3 separate regions of the Homo sapiens genome follow, and regions 1 and 2 are each linked to region 3. Evidence: promoter capture Hi-C in human tissues and cell types (Jung and others, 2019). All regions are on one chromosome and are shown on one strand. Each heading gives the region's core, a stretch centred on a gene start or on the middle of the fragment in contact. The rest is flanking DNA. Distances are from core to core; before and after follow the strand shown.

Evidence for each region. The method cuts DNA at HindIII sites, captures the fragments that hold promoters and counts their contacts. A contact is called where the count stands out against the background at its distance.
Region 1: a fragment that was not itself captured here is called in contact with the fragment with the promoter of HSPB8 in region 3 in 1 of the 25 tissues and cell types used here (H1 embryonic stem cells).
Region 2: a fragment that was not itself captured here is called in contact with the fragment with the promoter of HSPB8 in region 3 in 3 of the 25 tissues and cell types used here (H1 embryonic stem cells, bladder and hippocampus).

Annotation. Positions count from the first base shown.
Region 1 is chr12:119,124,897-119,129,003 of GRCh38, forward strand. SRRM4 (serine/arginine repetitive matrix 4) reads left to right here. Exons shown (of 13, transcript NM_194286.4): 7 at 485-583. It overlaps LOC105370021 (a long non-coding RNA gene), which reads right to left and starts at 74. Exons shown (of 3, transcript XR_945429.3): 1 at 1-74. The HindIII fragment of the contact is 6,642 bases long and covers 1-4,107 here.
Region 2 is chr12:119,228,625-119,232,836 of GRCh38, forward strand. All of the region lies in intron 2 of LOC105370025 (a long non-coding RNA gene), which reads right to left. Among named protein-coding and RNA genes, the nearest start is that of HSPB8-AS1, 47 kb to the left of the region's middle. The HindIII fragment of the contact is 3,853 bases long and covers 973-4,212 here.
Region 3 is chr12:119,177,318-119,181,232 of GRCh38, forward strand. HSPB8 (heat shock protein family B (small) member 8) reads left to right here and starts at 1,614. Exons shown (of 3, transcript NM_014365.3): 1 at 1,614-2,362. The coding sequence starts at 1,996. It overlaps HSPB8-AS1 (HSPB8 antisense RNA 1), which reads right to left. Exons shown (of 3, transcript XR_007063482.1): 3 at 3,850-3,915. RefSeq lists enhancers at 1-37, 1,217-1,966. The HindIII fragment of the contact is 13,927 bases long and covers 1-3,915 here.

The DNA of each region.
Region 1 (4,107 bases), core at 526-3,025, 52 kb before region 3:
TTGAAAAATTAGAGGATCACCACACAAATATTCTGGAGGCAAAGCAGCACCTTCTGTTTTAACTCGGGCCTCCGGTTGATATTATGTTAGTGCTGGGCTGATCCACATATTTATGCTGCCTGAATGGCCCCTGAAGCTCTGTGACGTTGAGGCGCCTGCCTTGAGTGATGCAGAGGAGACATGGGGAAGTGACTTTCTGCCTAGGGTGTCATCTGGGGAGCAGGGAGGGCCCTGAGTCATCCACACTCCCTTCAGAGGACCCCTTTCTGCTCACCCGTATTCAGTACCATTGGTTACGGAACCCTCCACCCAATACCCAGGCAGGAAGCTGGACTAACGCATGGGGTTGAGGGAGATGGAGAACTTCGGGAGGGATGGTGACCAGTGCAAAGGAAAAACGGGTGTCACAAGATCAAATCTCTCACTCTCCCTTTTTTACTCTCTCTCTCCTCTCCTCTGACTCGTTCCTTCTCATCCCCCCAAGATCTCGAAGCCGGCCCCGAAAGTCTCACCGCCACCGCCATCACCGCTGCCCCTCGCGGTCCCAGAGCTCGGAGTCCCGCCCCTCAAGCTGTGAGAGCAGGTAACCCCTTGCCCCAGGATCCTCTTCTGTCAGCCACAGCCGAGCCCAGGCTAAGACACTGTTAACACTAGCTTCGCCTCCACACTTCCAGCACAGGGTTTGGCCCCCTTCCTCAGACTCAGCAGCTGGCACCACTTCCCTGTAGAGAAAGGGCTGGAGAGCCTGGGTGCGGTGGCTCACGCCTGTAATGCTAGCACTTTGGGAGGCCGAGGTGGCCAAATTATGAGATCAGGAGTTCAAGACCAGCCTGGCCAATATGGTGAAACCCTGTCTCTACTAAAAATACAAAAAATTAGCTGGGCGTAGTGGTGGGCACCTTTAATTCCAGCTACTCTGGAGGCTGAGACAGGAGAATCGCTTGAACCCAGGAGATGGTGGTTGTGGTGAGCCAAGATCACGCCATTGCACTCCAGCCTGGGTGACAGAACAAGACTCCATCTCAAAACAAAAACAAAAACAAAAACAAGAGAAAGGGCTGGAGACCAAAAGGTCTTGCTGCCATCACTTATAGGAATGACAACACCATACTAGCTGCTTTTTTTTTTTTTTTTTTTTTTTTTTTGAGACAGAGTCTCACCCTATAGCCCAGTCTGGAGTGCAGGGGGGCGATCTTGGCTCACTGCAACCTCCACCTCCTGGGTTCAAGCGATTCTCCTGCCTCAGCCTCCAGAGTAGCTGGGACTACAGGCGCCCGCCACCACACCTGGCTAATTTCTGTATCTGTAGTAGAGACAGGGTTTCACCGTGTTGGCCAGGCTAGTCTCAAACTCCTGACCTCAAGTGATCCAACCGTCTCGGCCTCCCAAAGTGTTAGAATTACAGGTGTGAGCCACCGCCCCCAGCTCTAGCTGCTCTTTGTACATCCACTTGCAGGATCCTCTCTACAACCGTAACAAGTGGGCATTATTGTTATCCCCATTTTAAATATGAGAAAACTGAGGCATGGGGGGGTTAAGGACTTTACTAGTCTCTTAGCAACTAAGTGACAGTTAGGATTGAAATCAGGGAACATGGCTCTAGACTTCACTAAGGGACCACTCTAAGCACAGAGAAGCTAAGCAAACTATGTAAACCCAAACAGTGCAAAGTAGAAAGTTCACTCTAATGCCTTTTCAACTCAGTTTTCTCCTAACCTGGACTCTCTCTATGCTAATACATTGGTTGTCCCAACCTGAGAAGGCATCTTGTTGATGAGAAGAAGGAGGAAGGGAAGGAGAAGAGCAAGAATAAGAACTGGAGCTTTAACTATAAATCATGCTGCTATAAAGACACATGCACACGTATGTTTATTGCGGCATTATTCACAATAGCAAAGACTTGGAACCAACCCAAATGTCCAACAATGATAGACTGGATTAAGAAAATGTGGCACATATACACCATGGAATACTATGCAGCCATAAAAAATGATGAGTTCATGTCCTTTGTAGGGACATGGATGAAATTGGAAATCATCATTCTCAGTAAACTATCGCAAGAACAAAAAACCAGACACCGCATATTCTCACTCATAGGTGGGAACTGAACAGTGAGAACACATGGACACAGGAAGGGGAACATCATACTCTGGGGACTGTTGTGGGGTTGGGGGACGGGGGAGGGATAGCATTGGGAGATATACCTAATGCTAGATGATGAGTTAGTGGGTGCAGCACACCAGCATGGCACATGTATACATATGTAACTAACCTGCACATTGTATACATGTACCCTAAAACTTAAAGTATAATAATAATAAATAAATTTAAAAAAAAGAACTGGGGCTTTATTGGTGTTTGGAATCGTTGATGTTCAATGGGGACACTGAGACCTCCAGCTTCCAGATGTGAGGAGCTGCTTTTTTCTTTCTGAAATGCATCTCACACTTGACTCTCCGTTCACATCACAAGGGTAGATTTTAAAATGTCATTGCCCTGGCCCCACTTTTCCCAAATAAAGCAGAATATCTATAGGAAAAGGGAGGAGGAGCCAGGTACAATGTCTCGCGCCTGTAATCCTAGCACTTTGGGGGGCCGAGGTGGGCAGATCACCTGAGGTCAGGAGTTAGTGATCACCCTGGCCAACATAGTGAAACCTTGTCTCTATTAAAAATACAAAAATTAGCCAGGTGTGGTGGTGGGCACCTGTAATCCCAGCTACTCGGGAGGCTGAGGCAGGAGAATCACTTGAACCCAGGAGACGGAGGTTGCAGTGAGCCAAGATTGCACCATTGCACTCCAGCCTGGGTGACAAAAGTGAAAGTCTGTCTCAAAAAAAAAAAAGAAAAGAAAAGAAAGGAAGAAAAAGGGAGAAGGAGAAGGTAGAAGGGGGAGAAGGAGAAAGAGGAGGCAGGAGAGGAATATTTACCCAAATCCTGCTCTGTGTCAGACACTGTGCTAAGATTTTCAATACATTTTCTCTCTCATCATTCTGATAATACTACGTGCTATGCTGGTGCTTGTCTACTTCGGCTGCCCTTTTCAATCACTTGGGAAGTTTTAAAAGATGCCAATGCCTGGATCCCACCCTCTCAACATTCTGATTTAATCCAGATGAGATGAGACCAGAACAGTGAGATTTTTAAATCCCCCCAGGTGATGTGTGGGAAGCATTTGAGGAAGAGGCCCTTGGTACCTACTATCACAATTAGGCCTTGGTGTTTCTGCTGAACATCAATAATTTCCAAGAATATCACCATCCAACAAGGCCACTCTGCAGCCCTGATTGCTCAAGACAAAACTAAGCCCCCTCTGTAATCAAGTCTGAGCCCAGATGAGAACACCGCAAAACACAAAAGTGACCAAGCATCTCTCTACCCTGCCTAATATGAGTGACTGCTGCTTCCTCGGCAGTCAGCCTTAGCCTCGGTCTAGTCCTCCCTCTTTCTAAATAAGACTGATGAAGACACCCAGTCAGAATTACCCCCACTTCCTGGCAGCATCCAATTCTGAACAAAGCTCCAGATCTGTAAATGCTCCCCAAACCACCTATCACCAGCCCAAAGCCTATAATAGGTTCTTTTTAACACCCCCTTACAGAGACGCCTGAAACTTCCCTATGGTATGAAGGAGTGACAACAATGTTTGTTCAACCCCAGGTGGACTCCTGGTGGCCTTTTTCTGGAGGACATTGGCCAAATGAGCTAAAACACATCTCTGATCTGTTACAGCAGAGACAACTGCCTTTTGGTGGGCAAAGGGATCTGAGCGAGGTCACATAGCTAGGAAGTGTCTGGCAGAGCTGGAATAGGCACCAGGTTAGTGTGACTCAGCCTGAGCACTTCACCTACACCCCAGGCTGAATTATCTCTCGGCAGCTAAGCCCTACTGGCCTGGGCCAGAGAATCATACAAGGCTTTAGCAACTTACCTGTTAAATAAATGGTTAACATCACAAACACTACCCCGGGCCTCCTCTGCTGTCCCATCTCCTCCTGATGGTGTTGGCATCTGAGCTCCCAGTGCCTACTGAGCTGAGGAGCTTCCTAGCAGAAATGGAAGCAAACTGAGAGCTGGCACGCAGGTTACACATTCAGTAGAAACATGA
Region 2 (4,212 bases), core at 1,649-4,148, 53 kb after region 3:
AAGGCTGGCAGATCACCTGAGGTCAGGAATTCGAGACCAGCCTGGCCAACATGGTGAAACCCCATCTCTACTAAAAATACAAAAATTAGCCAGGCGTGGTGACGGGTGCCTGTAATCCCAGCTACTTGGGGGGCTGAGGCAGGAGAATCGCTTGACCCCGGGAGGCGGAGGTTGCAGTGAGTTGAGATCGCGCCACTGCACTGCAGCCTGGGCAACAAAAGGGAGACTCCATCTCAAAACAAACAAAAACAAAAACAAAAAAAACCCCGCATAAATACACCTAACTTACTGAACATCCTAGCTTAGCCTAGCCTAAATTTAACGTGCTCAGAACATTTACTTAGCCTATAGTGGGGCAAAATCATCTAACACAAAGTCTATATTATAATAAAGGGTTGAATATCTGATGTATTTTATTGACTACTAATTATTACATCAAAATTATATACATGTATAAACATGTATACATATATAAACATGTATACCTATGTATATGTATATATGTTGGTAATATGTACTATGGAGAAAAACCAGGGGAAGGAAGTCAGAGAGTATCAGGGGTTGGAGTTGCCTTTTTAAATGGTTGGGGTCAGAGAAGGCCTGGATGAGAAGGTGGCATTTGAATAAAGACTTGAAGGAGGTGAGGAAATAATGGCTAACTGAGAAAGAGTGCTTCAGGAAGAAGGTTCAACAGTGCAAAAGCCCTGAGGTAGGTAGTTGCCTGACATGTTTGAAGAAGGCAAACAAGACAGTGTGGCTGGAGGGAATGAGCAAGGAGGTGAGTGGGAGGGGATGAGATTAGAACTGGGTGGTGGGTGGGGTCATGTGGGGCTTGATAAGCAGTTCCAAAGACATTGGCTTTTACTCCAAGAGAACACCAGAGGCCACTGGGGAGTTCTGAGGAGAGAATCACATTTTAGCAGCAGTATTGTTTTCAAAATACACTGATTAGACTGCAAGTTTGTCCAACCCGCAGCCCGTGGGCTACATGCAGCCCAGGACAGCTTTGAATGCAGCCCAACACAAATTCATAAACTTCCTTAAAACATTATGAGATTTTCTTTGGATTTCTTTTTCTTTCTTTTTTTTTTTTTTTTGCTCATCAGCTAGCGTTAGTATATTTTATAATGTGTGGCCCAAGACAATTCCTCTTCTTCCAATGTGGCTCAGGGAAGCCAAAAGTTTGGGCATTGCTGGATTAGAGCAAGGGTACAATTGACAGATTATTACAATAATCCACGTGAGAGACTAGGTCCAAGACCACAATAAAAACCACCAGTTTTCCAACAAATTCCATTCTCTCTTCCATAGCCGTAAGTGAACCGTTGCTGCTCAACAGGGGACTACATTTCCCAGCCTCCCCTGGGGCAAGGTCGAATCATGTGACTAAGTTCTAACCAATGAAATATAAACAAAAGAGACGTGTGCAACACTGCCTCACTTGCTTGAAAAAAATGGTGGGTCGTGTTCTTTTGCCCCCTGCTCGTTTATACAAAGGCACAGGAATGTGCCTGGATGCAGCTGAATCATGCCGATGAGAACAACTGAAGGAAGCTGCGTCCCTGTGTGAAGGTGTGGAGCAAAGTCTAATATACTCCTAGGCTGTTCACCTCAGGACCATCTCATGAATGAGAAATAAATATCTGTCTTCTGTAATCCACTGTATTTTGGCATTCTTTGTTACAGCAGCTTAACCTTTACCTCAACTAATACACAGAATTTTACGGAAGGTTTAGCAACATCAGAAGTGAATTACAGCACAGTGTAGAATAGGAAACAACCTACAATGTAATACTCATCGCCTCTATCCTTAAAGCTCCTTAACCAAACCCTGCAGGGAATTTTTCAGACAGTCTTTTACTTCTCTGATACATGTATTTCTCCAACTTCCCAGGGCCTGGGGACATCCGCAAAATTTTCTTTCATTTTATTAAGCAAATGAATATTTTGTGAATCTCTATCACAGACAAACTCCAGGAACTTCCTTTGCATTACTCAAAAGATTTGGTGGTGCACCTAACCCAGGTGAACATCTTGACACGAATAATTATTGAAAGTAATGGCAAAAACCTCAATTACATTTGTGCCACCTAATAGCAGAAACTTTGTTATCAACAGTTTTCCTCTCATTTGCTTTACAGTAAGCTTTTCAGCACTTCCTCCTCCCCTAAAAATACTCTCAAGAAGTAGAAGTGGAGAAGGAGGGGAAACATATTTTCCTCTAACCTGACCAAATCTTAGCGTTTGCTCCTGGGGTTTTAGATGATGCTTTCTCCCATTTACTCAGACCCAGATATTTATATGACAGGCACCCCTATATATGCATCCACATGGTTCCTTCTTATAGACACACACTCAGGCACACGCAGACACACAGACAGCTGAGTCATGCTGGAAGGTCCCTAGTTGTCCATTCTGTTCTTTTCTGCCTTCAAACCCCAGCCTTCAACAACACTTCCCAAGACCGCGGCTCTGTGTCCTTTCCACTGGTTGATTCTTTGGGTTTCTCACCAAAATTCACAGTGGGAACGTTATGCTGGCTCATTTCCTCCCTGCTTTTATGGTCTGTCCTATTCATTAGTAACACTATGAAGCGGCTTGTAAAATGCATCAGAAACAAGGTCTCCTCTGGAGGACCTAAGAAGCCAAGCCCAGGTGTGGCACAGTCAGGCTTTGCCCTCATGACAGAAGTGGTCATATTTCTCCCCTGAACAAGATGAGACATCTAATAGGGCTACTTACTCATGGGATAGCTGTGGCCGGCTGAGTGTTCACACCACCAAGGAAGTGCATGGGGACAAAGCTTCATGGGATCTTGGAGAATGTCCTCCAAGGCCCTGCTCAGGTGATCTGATCAGAATTAGCCCCTTCTGCTGCCTCCCTGGGGTGTGGAGGGAGTCAGGGAGAATCAGTGAGGAATTAATTATATGTGGTTTCTTGTGTCCCTGTATGGATAGATGTGTATGCATATTGTGTGTTGACTCGATGAATTGTTAAGTGCATACAAGTCTGGATTGTCTATATATGTTAATGTCAGGGCGTTGATCTCGTTCTCTGTGGGCATGTGTTCATATTTCATTGTTCCCTGCTTATTTCTCTAGCCCATCTCACACCATTCTGTCTTCTAAACATAGGCTCTTCTTAAATTCCTTACTTCTCTCCAATCACTCTGTCCCTCCCTCTGACACTGTCTTTGCATTTTTCTTCGACTCCGTTAGCTCCGTTCCTTTATCTCACCTGCCTCTCCCTCCTTCCTCCTCCCTCCTCCCCCTCCTTCTCCTTGTCATCTTCCTTCTTCTTCTCATTCTCCTCCTCCTTCTTCCTCCTTCTTTCTTCTTCTTCCTCCTCTCTATCCCTTTCCCTCCTCTCCATCCTCCTCATCTTCCTCCTTGTACTCCTTCTTCTTCCTCTTCCTCCCCCTTCTTCCTCTCCCCTCCCTGCCCTGTCACTTCCACACACTATTTTCTTTCCTCCTTCCACACTCACCTCACCTGACGAAGCCCCCCTTCACCACTCAGCATGGCCATCACTTCTTCTGGCCTGAGCCCCTAGATGGTAACTGTTCCTGCTGGGTAAGCACCCACCAGTGCCTCCCTTCCCCGTTTGGAACTCCCACCAACTGTACTGCCACTCCCTAGTTCACTGTGTCTTCCCTGGCCACAGTGGCCTTGCATTGTGTCATCTTAGTTAAATTGAAAGCATTTCCCCAAATTCCCTTTCCTGCAGTGTTCTGTGTTAAAGTGGGCCAACCAACTTGGGTGAGCCTTGGAAAGTGGGTGTGAAGCAGCAGTTGTGTTTATGCTCCAGGGGTCAATGTGAGCTGAGGCTCTGCTGCATCTCACACTCATTGTCATGGATTTGATGGCTCATCTTGTTGGGAGATTGCAGACAGCAGGCAGGGCTGGGGCTCCTCCACCTCCTGCCGATCTCCTCTTTTACTTTTTCTAACGTCTGTGCCAGATTTGGGTGCAGCTCCATGGTCCTTCCAAAGCTCACGGCATCACTCAGATTAGAAGTCTGGAGGCACTGAGAGACTGACAGTTCCCAGGGAGGGACAAAGGCAGCTTCCAGTTTTCCTTGGTGTGTTCCAGCTCATCCTCATGGGTTCCATGTTGTTCTTGCTCTCTCCCATTTCATGTCCGTAATCACTTACCAAGGCACAGCCCTGCTGAATGTAGGTTCAGCATCCAATGCTTACATAAGCAGCACCAC
Region 3 (3,915 bases), core at 364-2,863:
ACACTTCTATGGTAGTTTTCTCATCTGTAAAATGGGATAATACTGGTACTCTTACCTCACAGGATTGCTGGTGAGGGTTAAATGAATTCATATTTATAAAGCCCATAGAGCAGGGCCTGGCATATAGCAAACATTATGTAATTGATAACTCAAAATTGAAAATACAAGGAGAAAGAGAATTACCTCATGTATTCTTCATGGTACATCTGTGAGTTGGCTACTGTTATGTCCGTTTATAAGGAGGAAAACTAACAACCTGGAGGTGCCTGGGAATAATGTTACTGCCTATAAAGATGCTTTGATTGACCAAACATTAATCGGATTTCTGAATCTTCTCCTAAGCCCATCAGTGAGGTTCCTTATAAAAATTCAGTTTTGGGCCAGGCGAGGTGGCTCACGTCTGTAATCCCAGCACTTTGGGAGGTGGAGGCAGGTGGATCATGAGGTCAGGAGTTCAAGACCAGCCTGGCCAAGATGGTGAAATCCAACTCTACTAAAAAATACAAAAATTAGCCGGGCACGATGGCGGGTGCCTATAATCCCAGCTACTCGGGAGTCTGAGGCAGAAGAATCGCTTGAACCTGGAAGGCGGAGGTTGCAGTGAGCGGAGATGGCGCAACTGCGCTCTAGCCTGGGGGACAGAGTGAGACTCTGTCTCAAAAAAAAAAAAGAAAAGAAAGAAAGAAAAATTCAGTTTTGGCATGAACTCTGCTAAGTCTGTTTAGTAGCAACCACCCATCTTCGATTTCTGATCACCCTCGATATCTGATTAGTTTCCTCATCCTCCGCGGTCCCCCAGGTGATGTCTGAGCACCCTGGCCTGTCTTCAGCAAGAATCCTCTTAGGTTAGCTGAGCCCGAATCCCTCTGACTCCTGGACTTCCCTCCTAGTAAATTTCCATTCGCTGACCCCCCACCTGCTTCTTGGCTACAAATTCACACTTACCCATGACCTACTGGGAATCAAGTCTAATCTTTCTCCCTCACTGCAAAATCCCATTGCAGGGGTCCCTACATCTATGGAGAAAGTTTCCCTGCCCAGTAAAGTCTTGCTTGTCATACTTTAACAAGCGTCATATGAATATATATATACACATTAAAAAAATTTTTTTTTTCCTTTACCAATCTCCCCAGAGGGCATTGAGGCTCTAGGAGCTTGGCCATCTTGTAAGTGGGGATTGCAACCCAGGGCCATCCTTCAAATCCACTGGGCTCCTGTCTCTCTCTTCCCTTTCTGCAGGTCCCCAGGGGAAAGGCAGGATACGACACGCTCTAGGGAAGGTATTTCCAGAGGGTGACCTGAGCCCTCAGCCAGGCTCGGGGTTATTAATAGCCAGGCCTTAGTGCCCCGCTCGGGGAGGGCGGCTCCAGCTCCTGGAGCAAGAGGAGGGCGGAGCTGAGCGGAGTGGCCAGGGGAGGAGAGAGTGTCCGGAGAGGCCGGCTGAACTTGGACGCGGCCCCTCCCAGCTCCCCCCACAGCCCAGCTGTTCCCTCCGCGGATTCTCCGGGGCTGGTTCATCACCTCCGAATATTCCTGTGACAGGAGACGCTTGCAAAACCCGCCTCCAGCCTCCAGCAGCAAATAAATAGAAGGCTTGCAGCCCAGAAGGAGCCAGAAGAAGTTTCTAGGCGCGCGTGCCCTGGGTTTATTAAGCTCCTGGCTCCGCTCTAGACCTCAGCGGTTCTGGCTGCCAGCCTGGGCAGCCTGGGAAGCCTGGGAGGACGGTGGCTTGCCGGTCTGTCGTGAGGCAGTGCGGACGGGGACCCTCTGGGATTCTGCTGGATCTGCCCCGGGGGTTACCTTTGGGGGCTGGGACCCCAGTCGAGGGGACACAACCGTCCCTGGCAGTGGTTGGTTCTGCTTCTCCCTGCAGAAAAGCAGCATTTTCGGAAGCTGAAGAATAAGCTAGCCCAGCCACACCACCTTGTTGTGTGACCTTGGGCAGGTGGTTCTGTCTCTCTGAGCCTCTGTTTCTCTCTGAGCTGAGCAGCCACCATGGCTGACGGTCAGATGCCCTTCTCCTGCCACTACCCAAGCCGCCTGCGCCGAGACCCCTTCCGGGACTCTCCCCTCTCCTCTCGCCTGCTGGATGATGGCTTTGGCATGGACCCCTTCCCAGACGACTTGACAGCCTCTTGGCCCGACTGGGCTCTGCCTCGTCTCTCCTCCGCCTGGCCAGGCACCCTAAGGTCGGGCATGGTGCCCCGGGGCCCCACTGCCACCGCCAGGTTTGGGGTGCCTGCCGAGGGCAGGACCCCCCCACCCTTCCCTGGGGAGCCCTGGAAAGTGTGTGTGAATGTGCACAGCTTCAAGCCAGAGGAGTTGATGGTGAAGACCAAAGATGGATACGTGGAGGTGTCTGGTAAGTCAGGGGCAGGAGGGAGAGAGAATGGGGAGGCCGGGATGTAGCCCTCAGCCCTGGGAATAGCCAGAGAAAGTTTCCTGGGAGCTGACGTTGGGACAGTGTGACACAGGTGACCTCAGGGCTCAGGAATGCAGCCTGCAAAGTTATCTTTACGGAAAACTTCTCTCCCGGCTCCCAGCAGAGATCTTAACCTGCCTGACTCAGCTATTGGGGCCTCTGGGTGCTCATCAATCATGGTACAGACAGGAAAATAGAAACCATGTTGGATATTTTGACAGAGGGCATTTAATATAAAGAATAGGTTAAGCAGATATCAAAGAATTAAAAAACAAAGAAGAAACGGGATTTTGTGCACTCCAGCATCATAACAGAGTCTAGAAGTGCACGTTAAGGCTGAACAATGATAGTGTTAATAACCGCAACTGGTTTCCGGTGAAACACCTCTCCTTGTCCCAGACAGGGAAACTGAGGCTTACCAGTAATTGTAGTAACACTAACTGGTAACTCTGAGTGCTAACTATTCGCTCAGCACTTTGCTAACTGCTGTTGCCTATAATATCTCAGCTAATACCACAACCAGAGGAGGTGGGTACTGTTTATCTTCTTTTTTCAGATGAGGAAACTGAGGCACGGAGAGATTAAAGTAACTTGTTCAAGGCCACCAAGGAGTCAGACCCAGGTTGTCTGGGAATTAGGAGGCCAGAAAGAAGAAGTGATGATTTACTGAGCACCTACTAGGTGCCAAGGGTGGGCTGACATTCTTATACTTCTCCAAAATCATCCTCAGTCCACTCCAGGGTAGCAGGGTAGGCCCATCTTGCAGCTGAGGAGGCTGAGGCCTAGGTGGGACTCGTTCACAGTCATGCCATGAGTCAGCAATAGGAGTGGAGTAGGGACTGGGCCTATGCACAGCTTTAGGCCCAGGGCTCTCACTGCCGCATCCCACCCTGGGAGAAATAAACATACTAGGGGGAAAAATGAGAGAAGACAGGAAGCTCAGCCCCTGTGAAGCTGGGCAGTAGAAAAATCTTTCTTTTCCTTCCCTCCTGATTAACACTCCATTAAAAAGAATGTGTTCCCGGCAGAGGCTTGCCTTCCAGAAAATCAGTCAAAGCCATTGCAAACACAGGCTGGGCAGGAACAAGCCCCAGCAGCATTCAGGGGGAGTTTCAAGCCAGTCCTGGTAGAATTATAAACATCAGAGGCTCCAGCGGGTGTGGTGGGCTGGGAGACACGCTGGGGCCACGTGCTGATGACAGGGTCAGCCAGATTTCTGAGTTGGCTGGGGAGCAGGGCATGAGTTCCGAAACTGGCTCCAACTTTAACCAGCAGGATGTGCAAATTACTTCACTTTGTGCTTCTGTTTTGTTTCCTCATCTGGAAATTAGGGTTCAAATGGTTATACCATAAGGATTGTTGTTTTAAGTGAGGTGATGCTGTAAAATGTGTACATACCTGTGAACCCAGAAAATCTGAGACAGATCTCAGTTCATTTAGGAAGTTTATTTTGCCGAGGTTGAGGACACTCCCATGACACAGCCTCAGGAAGT